Regions from separate parts of the Homo sapiens genome. Here region 1 is linked to region 2. The links are contacts of gene promoters, found by promoter capture Hi-C in blood cells and fetal thymus (Javierre and others, 2016). All regions are on one chromosome and are shown on one strand. The core of a region is centred on a gene start or on the middle of the fragment in contact, and the rest is flanking DNA. Distances in the headings are between cores, read along the strand shown.

Evidence for each region. The method cuts DNA at HindIII sites, captures the fragments that hold promoters and counts their contacts. A CHiCAGO score of 5 or more calls a contact.
Region 1: a contact is called between a fragment that was not itself captured here and the fragment with the promoter of PRKAG2-AS1 in region 2, in 1 of 17 cell types (naive CD8 T cells). The highest score is 5.1, in naive CD8 T cells.

Annotation. Positions count from the first base shown.
Region 1 is chr7:152,137,648-152,144,225 of GRCh38, forward strand. It overlaps KMT2C (lysine methyltransferase 2C), which reads right to left. Exons shown (of 59, transcript NM_170606.3): 56 at 2,028-2,144; 57 at 1,539-1,612; 58 at 1,149-1,257. Among named protein-coding and RNA genes, the nearest start is that of GALNT11, 120 kb to the left of the region's middle. The HindIII fragment of the contact is 433 bases long and covers 2,041-2,473 here.
Region 2 is chr7:151,872,381-151,879,589 of GRCh38, forward strand. It overlaps PRKAG2-AS1 (PRKAG2 antisense RNA 1), which reads left to right and starts at 4,662. Exons shown (of 3, transcript NR_038926.1): 1 at 4,662-4,760; 2 at 5,457-5,486; 3 at 6,182-6,843. It overlaps PRKAG2 (protein kinase AMP-activated non-catalytic subunit gamma 2), which reads right to left and starts at 4,735. Exons shown (of 16, transcript NM_016203.4): 1 at 4,127-4,735. The coding sequence starts at 4,240. RefSeq lists an enhancer at 3,478-3,597 and silencers at 3,788-3,927, 3,988-4,037, 4,800-5,229. The HindIII fragment of the contact is 12,278 bases long and covers 1-7,209 here.

The DNA of each region.
Region 1 (6,578 bases), core at 1,007-3,506, 260 kb after region 2:
CACTGCTTTCTTTCAGGTATCTGCTGAGTCCTTCCAAGAGCCTGGTAAGGAAGTCATTTTCTCTATCTTGCAGAAGATAAAATAGGGGCTCATATTAAACTATTTACTCAAGAATACTCAAGTAGGAAGGAGGCAGGTGGCCCTGGGCTGAGTCTCTTCTGACCACCATGGTAGCCATTGGTTACTGGCACTGTGCCAGGGCTCCCACACACTGTCTTATTTACACGTTACTTTGAGATGTATAACGGGCCTTGGGTCTAGTCGGATCCTTATTCTTGACTAAGAAAGGAGATTCCACAAAGACCCAAAATACAGATAGAATCCCACGAATCCCATGGCTATGTTCACGAAGGGAGAGGAGCACCAACAAAGTCAAGTCACTCAGGTGCCTCACTCCCCAAATGCGGGACGTTTCCTACAGAAACCAAGCCTGCTGCTCAGTGACAGCTTTCCAGGAAATGCCAATTCCAGAACCAAGGTACCTGAATCACAGTGGGAAAGACCAAGGTGGGAAGCAAATGCAGCAATTAAGGCCAAAAATAATCCCAATGGGTGAGCCGCCGGACCAGAGTCACCTCTGAGAGCACGGAGACAAACAGCAAGCTTGGCACTCGGCATTTTGAAGACAACAACCCACACCTGAACTGCTGAAGAATGTGGCGATGTGGGCACTTGGTTAAGCACACACTGATCGCCAGCGTGAGCACACAATCCTCAGCAGCACGGCGGCCCAGATTTGCCGCCCACAGCCCAACAGTGCCATCTCAGGAGCCACGGCCCCCTTGGAGAAGGACGGGGATGCTCTTCAGAGGGGACACTGCCAAACTGTGTCCAGGTTAAGGGGATAAAGAAGGATCCTATGGCACACAGAAATGATACCACCTGGGTGCCATGGGGATGCTGAACCCGTGGCACAGAAGGGAAGGGAGAGGTGACAGCAAATGCTCACAGAGCTGCCATGTGGAGGAAGGTGAACTGGAGTGCCTGAAGGGTGAGATACTGCAGGGTGGGAACATCTGGCCTATTATGGACAGAGTTTTTATCACAACAAAGAATTGGGAAACAAGTGAGTAAGTGACCTGTGTGAGGAGGGAACTATTCGCCCAGGATCTGAACAACATGGCAGATGCAATCTCTCACACTCTTACCTCTTCTCCTTTCTGGATTCTCCGACTGGAGCTGATGATAATTTTGTGTCCTCTCTCAAAAGTCACCACTTCAGCCACACAATTAGGTGCACACGAATGGTTGATATACCTGCAAGCCACCATGTCAGAAAACTGTATTGTAAAACAGCTAGAAGCAGCTTTAAAAACTTCCCATTTATTGATAAAGCAGTTTTTGCTAATTAAATTTCTATTTGCCCATTGTTAGAAGCACAAATATAACATTTAAATAAAAATTCTCAACTCATTTGCTCTGAATGTTTAGTCACCGCCAGGCTGCCGTGAGAGCCTTTCCCTTGGCTTCAGTGTTCTCTCCACCAGCACTGGCCCCACAAGCAAAAGCACTCCCCGTCAGGTTCCTCGCTGTCTCACCTTGCGGGCCCTCCTGTGAGCGTCGCGTCAATCACATGGTCGTTATCCATGCGGAACATGTACACACCACGGTTCTGAGGGAAAAGTCAGTCAGTAAGTCATCAATGTCGACCTGAAACTCCCCTCTGTGTTCCTATCCACACCAGGAGGACTCAGTCGAAACTGAACGGAACGGCAGCCTGATCATCCTTACTGTGGATATTCTATTAGGCACAGATGACATTTACATGGCACGAATGGAAAGCATGGAATCAGTAGGTTGTGTGTGAAGCCAGGCTCATTAATTTACAGTTGTCTATCAAAGTAAACTGTAACACCAATTGAAAGAGATACAACTGATAAAAATACACTAATATACAGATATGGCTTTTGTTTAAAGCTGAATGCAGCATGACAGATTTCATTCTGCCTTCCAGGGTGTCTGGCTGGCACGGAGAAAGGGAGAGGATGATGGTGCTGTGTATACAATCTCGGGGACCAGACACCTACCTGAGACTCATAAAGCTTCTCTTTCCTGTTGGCTACTTCGTTTCGAATGATAGTCCCGATGTACTCAATGACCATGGTGTGTTTCTCAATGTCTCGAGCAGCATACAGGCCCAGCCCCTAAAAAAAAGTGTGTACATACTTCCAATTTATGTGACAACAAGTCTTTTTTCTGTTTTTCATACAAAGGTTTCACCCTCGGGTCTTATTAGAAGCCATACTTAAGTTTCACTTGAACTCAAATCATTTTTGAATATGCTATTTTCTGAAATTTTAAAAATTGGACATTTTTACTACTTAAAACTATGCCATCACTAGCTTATTCCTACATCTTTTTTAGCACTAAATTCTTAGAGTCTATGTATAAAGTAGTACTGTGGCTTGGCTGTCTTATGTATTAGGCTATCTAACCTTCCAGATGAGATAGCTGAGTTCCCACCAACTAAATAAGCTTATTGACTTGTGGTGTTTATTTTACCCCAATACTATTTCAAAAAAGACATAATAAATTCAATAACATAGAAATCAGGCTAACTATAACCAATCACTGATACTGTAAACAGGGTTCAGACTTGGCTCTGAGTTTCCCAGCAGCCAGGGCAAAGAGCAGACACAGGAAACGTCACTCTGCTGTAAATATCAGGAATGTTGGAAACAAATGAAGCTCTTGGGGAAGGTAAATTTTTCACTAATACAAAATTCTGAGGCTGGGAAAGAAGTTTGAACGGGCTGAAATGGAAGCAGCTCTCACTGCGCAGCTTGTACTCCCGTGCTGGTGGCCTGCCAGGTGCACTATTCAGGTTGGTAGCACAACTTGTAGAGAAACATACTAACAAAATATGGGTCTTTGCCATAAATAGTTGTATTTTCTTGTCCCAATTTTGGGTTTTTGCACTTAATTCTGACTAGAAGGCAACTGAATGCAAAAGTACTAGACTAGATGCAACTGAATCAGAAGTACTAGACTAGAATGCAATTCTAGAATTGAACTGAATTCTAGAATGCAGAAATCAACTGCATTCTAGTCGGAATTACTAGGAGGACCATGTGCTGCCCCAGCTGCATCCTCATGAAGCACATCCGGGAGCACATGGTGGGAAGGGCCATGTGAGAGACTTTAGTATGTGAACTGATTTATCCTCTGAACAAGCATCTTTGATTATCTGTTCTACTCCAGATACAACTCACAAGTGAATGAACCAGAACACACAAAAAGTATGTATGGAGATCAATAGAGTGTGGTTTAAGAATAAACAAGATCAGTGGAAATGAAGAGATTCCAAATGGGCCAGGCGTGGTGACTCATGCCTATAATCCCACCACTTTGGGAAGCCAAGGCAGGCAGATCCCTTGAGGTCAGGAGTTCAAGACCAGCCTGGCCAACATGGTGAAACCCCGTCTCTACTAAAAATACAAAAATTAGCTGGGCATGGTGGCGTGTGCCTGTAATTCCAGCTACTAGGGAGGCTGAGCCAAGAGAATTGCTTGAGCCCCAGAGGCAGAGGTTGCAGTGAGCTGAGATCATGCCACTGCACTCCAGCCTGGGCAACAGAGTGAGACTCCAGAGGCTGAGGCATGAGAATCGCTTTAATCTGGGAGCCAAGATGGCACCACTGCACTCCAGTCTGGGTGACAGAGTGAGACTCCATCTCAGAAAAGAGAAATAGATCCCTGCATGTATGAAAATCTAACGTACAGTAGTAACTGGTATTAAAATTCAGTTTATAGTCAAGATTTCGTGGGGTTAGAAGAAAAAGGCCAGGTGCGGTGGCTCACACCTGTAATACCAGCACTTTGGGAGGCAGAGGTGGGCGGGTCACAAGGTCAGGAGTTTGAGGACCAGCCTGGCCAATATGGTGAAATCCCATCTCTACTTAAAAAAAAAAAAAAAATTAGCCGGGCATGGTAGTACACACCTGTAGTCCCAGTTACTTGGGAGGCTGAGGCAGAAGAATCGCTTGAACCTGGGAGGCAGAGGTTGCAGTGAGCCGAGATCGTGCCACTGCACTCCAGCCTGGGTGACAGAGGAAGACTCTGTCTCAAAAAAAAAAAAAAAAAAAATTCATGCCAGCCACGGGGGCTCATGCCTGTAATCCCAGCACTTTGGGAGGCCGAGGCAGGTGAATTGCTTGAGTTCAGAAGTTCAAGACCAGCCTGGACAACATGGCAAAACCTCATCTCTAAATAAATATTTTTAAAAATTAGCCAAGTATTGTGGCATGCGCCTGTAGCCCTGGCTACTCAGGAGGCTGAGGTAAGAGGATCGCTTGAGCCCAGGAGATCGAAGCTGCAGTGAGCTGAGATTGTGCCACCGCACTCCAGCCTGGGCGACACAGTGAGACCCTGTCTCAAAGAAGAAGAAAGAAAATCAGTTAAAAATGAGTGGGTTACTTCTAAATGGCCCTTCAACAACTGGTTATCCAATGGAAGAAAGCGAAATTGTATTTTAAAAATGTTATGCAAGAAAACCTCTAGAATCCGTATATAATCTAGGGTCTTGACCAAGACTAGATGCAACAGAAAATTATGTATGTTTGTTTATATAAACAGTAACTTTTACAAGAAAAAAGATGTCACACTTGCTGGTAGGCAAAGGATATTTTGTAGGGGAAAATTCTGAATAGTGTAAACTGCTAAAAATTGAAAAATGGACAAAGGATATGAATACGCAATTCCTATGAAAGCAAATCCAAATGGCGGACATGAAAAGCTGCCTATTCAATTAAGGTAACATCAGTCTATATTTATCAGACCAACTAAACAAAAAAATAGTAACACCAGCTACAAATGGGAAACAAGAAAACAGTCTCACATGCTGCAGGAAGAAGTGTGCAGTAAGAGACTTTTTAGAAAACTGGCAATATCTATTTAAATGAAAAGTACACACGCTTTTACACAGAAACCTCACGTTTGGGAATATACCCCATAGGAGTGAAACTATTAATTCATTGTGATATTTGTACAAGATATAGCAACACTGTTTGTTATGAGAAAAATTATAAATCAAATACACACTCATCAGTAATGCAATGGTTTAACTGCAGTTCATCAACACTATGGAACATCAGGTAACCATTCAAAAGAATGAAATGAAGCTACGTCAGTTGATCGAGAGGGACCTCTGATTATTACAGAGAAAAGGAAGACGGAGAAAAATAAATATAACATGATTCCATTTTTATATATGTACATAAAAGTGTATATAGTTCTAAGATATTAGCACAGAAAAACAGGATACATATTAGATCATCCACGGGATCCCCAGGGAGGTGGACAGATGGGAGGGTGGCAGGATGAAATAAGTAAAGAGACAGAAACCAGAGCTCTCAAAAATGCTTCAGGTTAAAGGTGACAGGTTGAACACAGTTAAGATACCCACTAAAATCACAGTAAAAGCACACTCCTCGAGAACACGAATGGGTATAAGAGTGAATGGACTATTTAAAATGAAAAGTAATTGACTTAGCAGGGGAAAGCTAGAACTGGAAGGAGTAGAGGCAAAGCACTAATTCACCCACAGAATCCGAGAGAGGCTCAACAGAGAGGGGCAACAGCAGAGAAAACACAGATACTCCACTCATAATGTAAAAACAAAATATCAAACAAGATCAAGAGCAGAAAGGGCTCGTAGCTAATCTCTAAAAATAGACAAGAAAGATTAGCAGATAAAGTAGAGGAAGTCTCAGAAAGAACAGAGAGACAAGGAAACAAAGAACAGAAGGGGAGAAAGGATATAAGACAGAAATTACTCTCTGACATGCATGAGAATCATCCAGGAGGCCCCACCTCCAGAGCTGGATTCAGTGAGGCTGGGCTGGGGCCCCCGAACCTGCACATCCTAACAAGCTCCCAGGTGACACTGCTGCTTCTAGTCTCAGGTCCACACTGTGAGATCCTGAATCTCAGGGGTTTTAGTGCAAACACAGAGGAAACAGAGGGGCAGAACTTGCAAAAGAATGAATACAAAACACATTTCTCAGACGGAAGGTCACGATGCTCCAGGTTGAAAGGGCTCATCAAGGGAGGAAAGCAATCAACAAAAAGACCTCCACTGAGGTGTAGTTCTGTGAAATGTCCAAATATCAATAAAGAGAAGATCCTACAAACTTCTAGTGAGGAGTAAAAGGGTTCCAACAAAGGAACAAGAATCTGAATGAGTATAGACAAAGGAACGCTGATCCAGTTTATAGGGTAAAGATACTTTGCTGGCTGCTGAGAGGGAACTGGATGGGAGGAGACAGCCAGGCCTGCAGTGGTACAGGCAAGTGATATGTGGCTCAAGATAGGGCTGGTAAACCTAAGAGTGGATCTGAGAGAATTTTTAGGAGAAAACAGAACTCGATGATGCTTTAGGTTTAATCTGGCAGTACTGAGGCCAATGTACACAAACGGTAACATCACTCAGCAAGGAGCTTGTAGGATGGCGGGGTTTAGGAGCTGGACAAGTTTGACAAAGTAAGAGCTTTGTAATTCCATTCTGAGACATCCAAGGAGAAAAATGCTGAACAGGCATTTGGATATTTGGGTCTGCAGCTCAGGAAGTATGGACTATAG
Region 2 (7,209 bases), core at 3,412-5,911:
ATGGAATGCTGTTTTCTTTACCTTTAATGGCTTCTTAGTTCAGGTCCCCCCAGAAAAGACACTCAGACAGGAACTTAGGTTCAGGAGTTTATCCCAGGGAGTGCAGACAAGGGAATGGGGAAACTGAGGCAGGAACTGGCCAGAAGGGCCAGTAAGGTGCATTAACGAGTGGGTTACACTGTGGATCCCCACCCTGCTAGGGATCCCCTGAGGCATCCTGCAGAACCCAGGTCAGAACTTCCCACTGAGCAGCAGGGCGGCTGGGCCATTGGCCACCAACTGGACCCCTCCTGGGTTGAGGGTTGCCCCTCAGGGCATAATCCCAGCACTTCCAGGGGTTCCTGCACTAGGCTGAGCAAGCTGCCAGGGTCTGAGAGGATTCCTTCAGGTGGGGAGGGAGACACGAGTAAGAGGCAGTCCACCAAGGCTGCAGGTGAGGGTGGGCTGGGCCCCAGGCACCAGGAGGAGGCTATCCACAGCGTCCACCGCAGCTTCTTCACGCCTTCAGGAGGGGGTCCTCACGCCTTAGGCCTGGTCTTCAAGGCAGCATTGCCAGATCAAATACAGGACGCCCCCATTAATCTGGGATTTCACATCAACAATGGATACTTTTTAGTATTTCCCAAATATTGTATGGCGCATACCTATGCTAAAACATGATTCATTGTCTACCTGAAATCTAGATTCAACTAGGCATCTTGTATTTTTAGTTACTACAGCTGGCAACCCTATGTCCAGGTCCTTCCTGATCCAGTCTCAAAGCATTTCCTATGACTCTAGCTCTCAAACCCTTTCGCCAGGAGGCGTGGCTCTTCACCTGGAAGCAGCCATCCCCTCCCGCCCGATTCTGTGGGGTGCTCCCACTGGTTCCTTAGTGGGAGTATCACCCCCACTTCTACGTGACTCCTGCCTGCCATCTCTGGGTGTAAAGTCTCTCTAAACACATCAGGCCACTGTCATCGCTCCTTCTGCCTCTAGAAACAGGTGTGGTCTGCACTGGCCATCGTATGACCCTGGATCATTTGCTAGCCTTTGTCTGAAAGCCTCATTTTCCCAGCGAGGTTATAACTGCCACCTAGCCTGGCACAATGATCCATAGGTAATGACCATTAGGCAGATGAGGGGACCTCCCTGGTACCCAAAGCAACTGCAAGCCCTGTGAGGACTTGGGCAGATCTTCCCCAGATCTCACCCTAACCAGAGCCTGGGCACGTGGTCACCCTCAGCCACTGTGGAATAACTGAATGAATACTACTTTCGCGGTGGGCTGGCTCATGCCAAGAACGTTATGAAAAGCTGCCAAAGTCACCACTGGCAGCAAGAAGGGTGGTCCGAGGACCCCAACTATAACATGGTTTTTCAACGTTCACGGCCTGGCCTCACAGTCCTTTTTCTGGTTCTGGATTTTGTCTCACACTATCGCTGGCACCACCCCACGGGCACGCCCACACATCACTCACACCCTGCATTTGGAACCAGCCTCAGCATGTGGCTGCCACACAAAATGGCCCAACCACTGGACAATGGCATGTTCTTGTTTCTCTCTATATATTTTTTTAAAAAACTAGGTGTCTGATGTATATGTATATGTATATGATGTATATGTATATGTATATGATGTATATGTATAAGTATATGTATATGATGTATATGTATATGATGTATATGTATGTATATGTATATGTATATGATGTATATGTATATGTATATGATGTATATGTATATGATGTATATGTATATGTATATGATGTATATGTATATATGTATATGTATATGATGTATATGTATATGATGTATATGTATATGTATATGTATATGATGTATATGTATATGTATATGATGTATATGTATATGATGTATATGTATATGTATATGATGTATATGTATATGTATATGATATATATGTATATGTATATGATGTATATGTATATGTATATGATGTATATGTATATGATGTATATGTATATGTATATGATGTATATGTATATGTATATGATGTATATGTATATGATGTATATGTATATGTATATGATGTATATGTATATGTATATGATGTATATGTATATGTATATGATGTATATGTATATGTATATGATGTATATGTATATGATGTATATGTATATGATGTATATGTATATGTATATGATGTATATGTATATGTATATGTATATGTATAAGCCATACATTTATAGGACACTTTACACTTGTCAAGAGTTTTCCCGGGATGGGTGTGATGGCTCACGCCTGTAATCCCAGCACTTTGAGAGGTCAAGGTGGGCGGGTCACTCGAGCCCAGCTCATGTGGACCAGCTTTGGGCAACATGGTAAAACCTCATGTCTACAAAAAAAATAAATAAATTAGATGGGTGTGGTGGCACATGCCTGTAGTCCCAGTTACTCAGGAGGCTGAGGTGGGAGGATCACTTGAGCCTGGGGAGGTTGAGGCTGCAGTGAGCCATGATTGCACCACTGCATTCCCACCTGGGGAGCAGAGTGACACCCTGACTCAAAACAAAAAAAACAATAAAAAAGAGTTTTCCCATGAATTACTTTATTTCAATATCCGTATAAAGCAGGAAAAATGGGTATTATTTCCTGCATTTGACAAATGGGAGAAACAGTAGTTACACGGTTAGCTCAAGTGATCACTGTTTAAGAGGTTTGTGGCAGCAACATCTAACTTTTAACTCACGAACATGGTTTTAAATGTCTTACATGAGAGATGTAAACAAGAATGTTTCATTTTCAAATAGAACACTTATTCCTGCATAATCGAGTCACCACCGTGGGGGCCACACAGCAGCCAGGGGTCCAAGTTTCCAGCCCCAGAGCTTTCCAGCCAGGGAGGGCTGGCCCAGGGCCCCTGTGGGGCTACTTGGCATCAGGTGTCTGGAGACCCGCCCCTGGACTCCACCCTCTTCACCCAAGCGTTAGGCACGTGTGGGCCGGAGTTTACACAGGAGGACCTTAGCGGGGCGTCTAAAAGAAGGGTGGCTCAGCAAACACGGGGCAGTGCGCCCTGGGATTCACAGTGGGAAGTGAGTGGCCTGCCTCGGCCATGCCAGCTGCGCCTGACCCTGTCGGGAAGGATTAGCTTTAATGAGGGGTCCGGACAGCCCATTCACTGCGCACTCCCACCCTGCCCCGGGAGAGCAAAATAACTTTCTCTACGGAGCACTCTGGTGTGTGTGTGTGTGTGTGTGTGTGTGTGTGTGTGTGTGTGTGTGTGTGTGTACACAAACATTTACTTGGTTGGCTGAGGCGGAGGGTGTGACCCAGTGGGCCACACCTCCCACCGCCCTACCCCGCTACGTGGAGGCGAGGAACAGTGGCCGCGGGCTACCGGGGCGCCTTCCGAAAAGAGAACCACTACGCGGCCCGCCGCCCCTCTGGCTGGACAAAGTGAAGCCGCAGGCAGATCCGAGTCGCCAATGTCCTCCCGGGCGGCTGGCGCGGACGGGGCTGAAGTTCAATGCAGCCTGCACGGATTAGGGAGCTCCGAGCCCCCAAATACCACAGAGACCCAAAGTACACTCCCGGGGCGGGGGAAGGGAACGGCGGCAGAGGAGACCCCCGCTCCAGGCCCAGAAACGCCCGGAGAGAAACTGGAGCGGAGGGGGTGCATTGGAAGACGCAGCTACACAGCTCCCCCCAACCCCCGCCCCGCTGCTTTCCCCACCCACCGCCCCTCCCCTCTCCTCCCTCCCCTCCCCTCTCTCCGTCTCCAGCAGCCGAGCGCGGGCTCCACCTCCCCGGAGCGCAGTCCACACCGTCCCTTTTCAGCAAAACAACACAACGCACCGCCCCCCGCACCCGCACCCGGCTGGATACCGGGCTACGCCCAGCCGCCCACCCGCCGCGCCCGGCGCCCCCTCTAGTCTGCAGCCGCCCAGCCCCCGCCCCAGGCGGAGCCCCAGCCCTGGCTGCACGCGGGCAGAGAGAGAGATTGAGCCCCGGCTCCGCCAGCCCAGCTCGGGCCCTGTCCCTCTACCCTTTCCCCAAGCCGCCCGAAGTGACAGGAGGGGCACGCACGGCGCGCGCGGGGCGTCCAGCGTTAACCGCTTCGGCGCCGGGGACGGGAGCGACAGGAGGGCTGGGGAGCAGGGGACCGAGTGCTGGGACTCACCGGAATGTGCACGCGCAGCGAACGCCTCTTCTGGCTGGCATTTTTCTTGCCGCCGCTCCCGCCGGGGCTGGAAACATCTTTTTTCTTCTTGGTGTCCATAACCGCGCTTCCCATAACTCTAACCAGAAGTTGATTCTGCGAAACTCCTCGGGGGTTCGGTCCCCTCCTTCCCTCCCCCGGCCGCTGCCTTCGGACTGGAGCCGCGCGCTCTGTTACACCCTGAAGCCACCTCGTGGGGACTTCCGCGGAGAGGGAGGGTGAGCAGGGAACTCGCGCGGCCGCCGCCGCCGCCGAAGCGCCGAATTCAAGCGTCCTTTCCTACGGAACCCTCGTAGGCAAATCAGTCAAAGCCCGTCCCGGTTCTGGTGTCTCCCCGGGTTACTCGTGGCTGAGGTCTCCCGCTGGGTGACAAAGTTTTCTTCCTTTTGCAAAGCTAAGAAACATTTTCCACCCTCTCGGCTCCTCCCACAGATTCCCAGAGGTAATCTGAAAGGCAGGTGCAATTAAAACCAGCAATTTGGAAAACAAGCCTCCTATGCCTGTGCCCAAGTGGGGAATCTGGAACCAGTAAGCCCGTTCGTGCATAAATGTAATCCTCGGCCGCAGAATAAACCAGCTCGGAGCCTGCAGCTGGGTCCGTCCTCCTTTCTGGGCGAGAGGGAGGGCGGCGGGGGAAGAGGAGGTGCAAGGCGAGCCCTCTGCGCAATTAGGCTACGGGCGGCCGCTGGCAGAAGTTCTGGCGGCGGCGCTCGCGGCCCTGCGCGCCGGAGGGGGCGCCCGGAGTCCAGCGGGCCAAGAAGGGCAGGGCGCCCGCTCCTCGCCCCCCGCCGCGCCGCGGCCCCAGGGGACCGCAAGGGGACAGTGAGGGGCCGGGCCTGGCACCGACGCAAGCTCGGGGAGCGCGGGTGGTGGGAGGCGGCGCGTGTTGAACAGGAAGTGCGCGGCGTGCAGCGCCACCGTCCCGCTCCCCGTCGCCCCACGCCGCCCTCGTCGCCGCGCCCAGACCCCTGCGGCGGCCGCAGCCGCTTGGGACTCGCTGCGAGCTGGTTTCGGATCCATCCCGCCTCCCGGCGTCTCACTGTGTGCCCTACCCTTTGAAACACGCCCCCGCGCCCGCCCTGCCGTAGACCAGGCAGCGAGGAAGCCCACAGTCTCCGGGGGCGCTGCGCGCGAAGTAGCACGTGCTTCTCGAAACACCGCAGCCCCCGGGTCCCGCCCCGCCCGGCGCGCGCACTCGAACCCGCCCAGAGAGCGGTGCGTGGCGCTGGGTGCGAGCAGGGTCTAGCCACCCCCACCCTCACCCCACCCCACCCCACCCTGCTTTTTTCAGGTTCATCAAGGTTTGCGCAGTGGATCCGCGGTAAGTGCGTGTCCCCACGCCGCGGGAAACGTGGGGCTCCTGAGACTGCGGAAAGAATTGGGAGAAGGGGAGGGCTCGAAGACCCGGGCGAGGGTTCCCGGTGCGGCCCAGGTCCTTTAGAGCCCCGGGTGGGCATCCAGTACCGCCTGCTGCCGAGGGCCCTAGAGGGGTTGGGGGAGGGGGCTGGTGTGTCCCCCACCCCCAGATGCGCCCCAGGATGGCGCGACCTCGGCTCCCTGGTGGAAAGTAGGGGGAGTGCTGGCTTGGGGGTCGCTTCCCCTCCTGCTCTAGTTTCTGAGGATGTGATGACCCCAAAGGTCATTGGCGCTCCCAGAATGCTGACGTCAGCTCAGCCGCTCCGAGTAATCAGTAATGCAGGGAGGCCACCCGCAGAAAGAACGCGACAGGGGTCGCTTTGGGGACACCATAGGGCCTTTACTCCTTTTGAGGTGCGTGCTTTCGCAGGACTCCCTCCCCAGAGGAGGAGGCATGATCAGCCCACCCAAAGGATCATCTCTTAGGAAGCAGGCGTGCGCCCACGCAGGGAGAAGCATCCTTCCTTTCAGCTGCTTGCCGGGTGGCTTTTCCAACCCGAGTTCCAGCAGCTTGCACAAAATCCTTACAGCTTGGGTGGTTCCCTGGCTCATAGGGGTGGGTTTATATTCTTTCTCCTTCTCCTCTGCTCTCTGGTCCAGAATGAAGCCAGCCTGGAAGATCCCCAGTCTCGAGACAGAGCCTGACAGGGGCAGATGCACTGGAAGGACCCTGTCTGGGTTTAGCAACCAAGCAGCCATCCTGGCCCCACAGGTGTGGGACTTCTGGGTCTTCTCCTGGCTGGCTTCTTGCTAGAGGATTTCAAGAGACCCAGCAAGACTGTATTGTCCCACTGAATGCTCAAGATATTGGTTAGAAGTAGAAAAGGGGAGGGGGTAGTATTTAGCCTCTGTCCCCACTAAAAATTATTCCCAATTGTCATTTGTGTCATCTGTTTAGCTTACAGTTTTAATCCTTGTCAAAATGATCATTTGCCAGGGTGCATAAAACACCCTATTTGATGAGAACTGGTTTTAAAGGAAAATGGGGCCATCAGAAGGAAGCCGGTTGGTGTGAAGAGACGTCTGGGAAGAGCCCCTGGCGAGGGCCCTCATTCCACTGGGTGACCCAGAAGGAGAAAACCGCGATGGCGCTTCTCATTTGAAATGTTTTCTTTATGGACAGTGTTTAGCAATTGTTATAATGTGTACTTTTGTTGATTGATCTGTATACATATGTAAAATAATTTGTTCTCTGAGTTAATTTTGTTGGAACAAAGACTTTAGTGCTTCCTACATTAAAACATTTTACTGTATTGCCTGCATTTTAAGAGCCTTTTTTTAATTTTTAATTTTTTTGGTCCTTGTGATATGACGAGGTATAAATTCTGGGTTTTGTCCAGGGTTCCTGGCTTAGCACTCTCGTCGCCCTCATCACAGTCTCTTGTTATAATGTTGGGGCGCTTTAGGCCTCAGACACCCCAGGAAACAATCTCCTCTGAACTTCCCCTGCCCTCCTTCACCACCTCACCAGCCCAAGGCAGGACTCTAATCCTCCCTCATCTTTCTGATTGTGGGACTTAAGACCCTCTATTCAGAAGGGGTCCTGCCCCATTCCCGAGAGGAAGAAATCCTGCACGGAAAGGCCAATAACGGTCGGAATAGGCAGGACTTGTTTGGGTGTCCACACT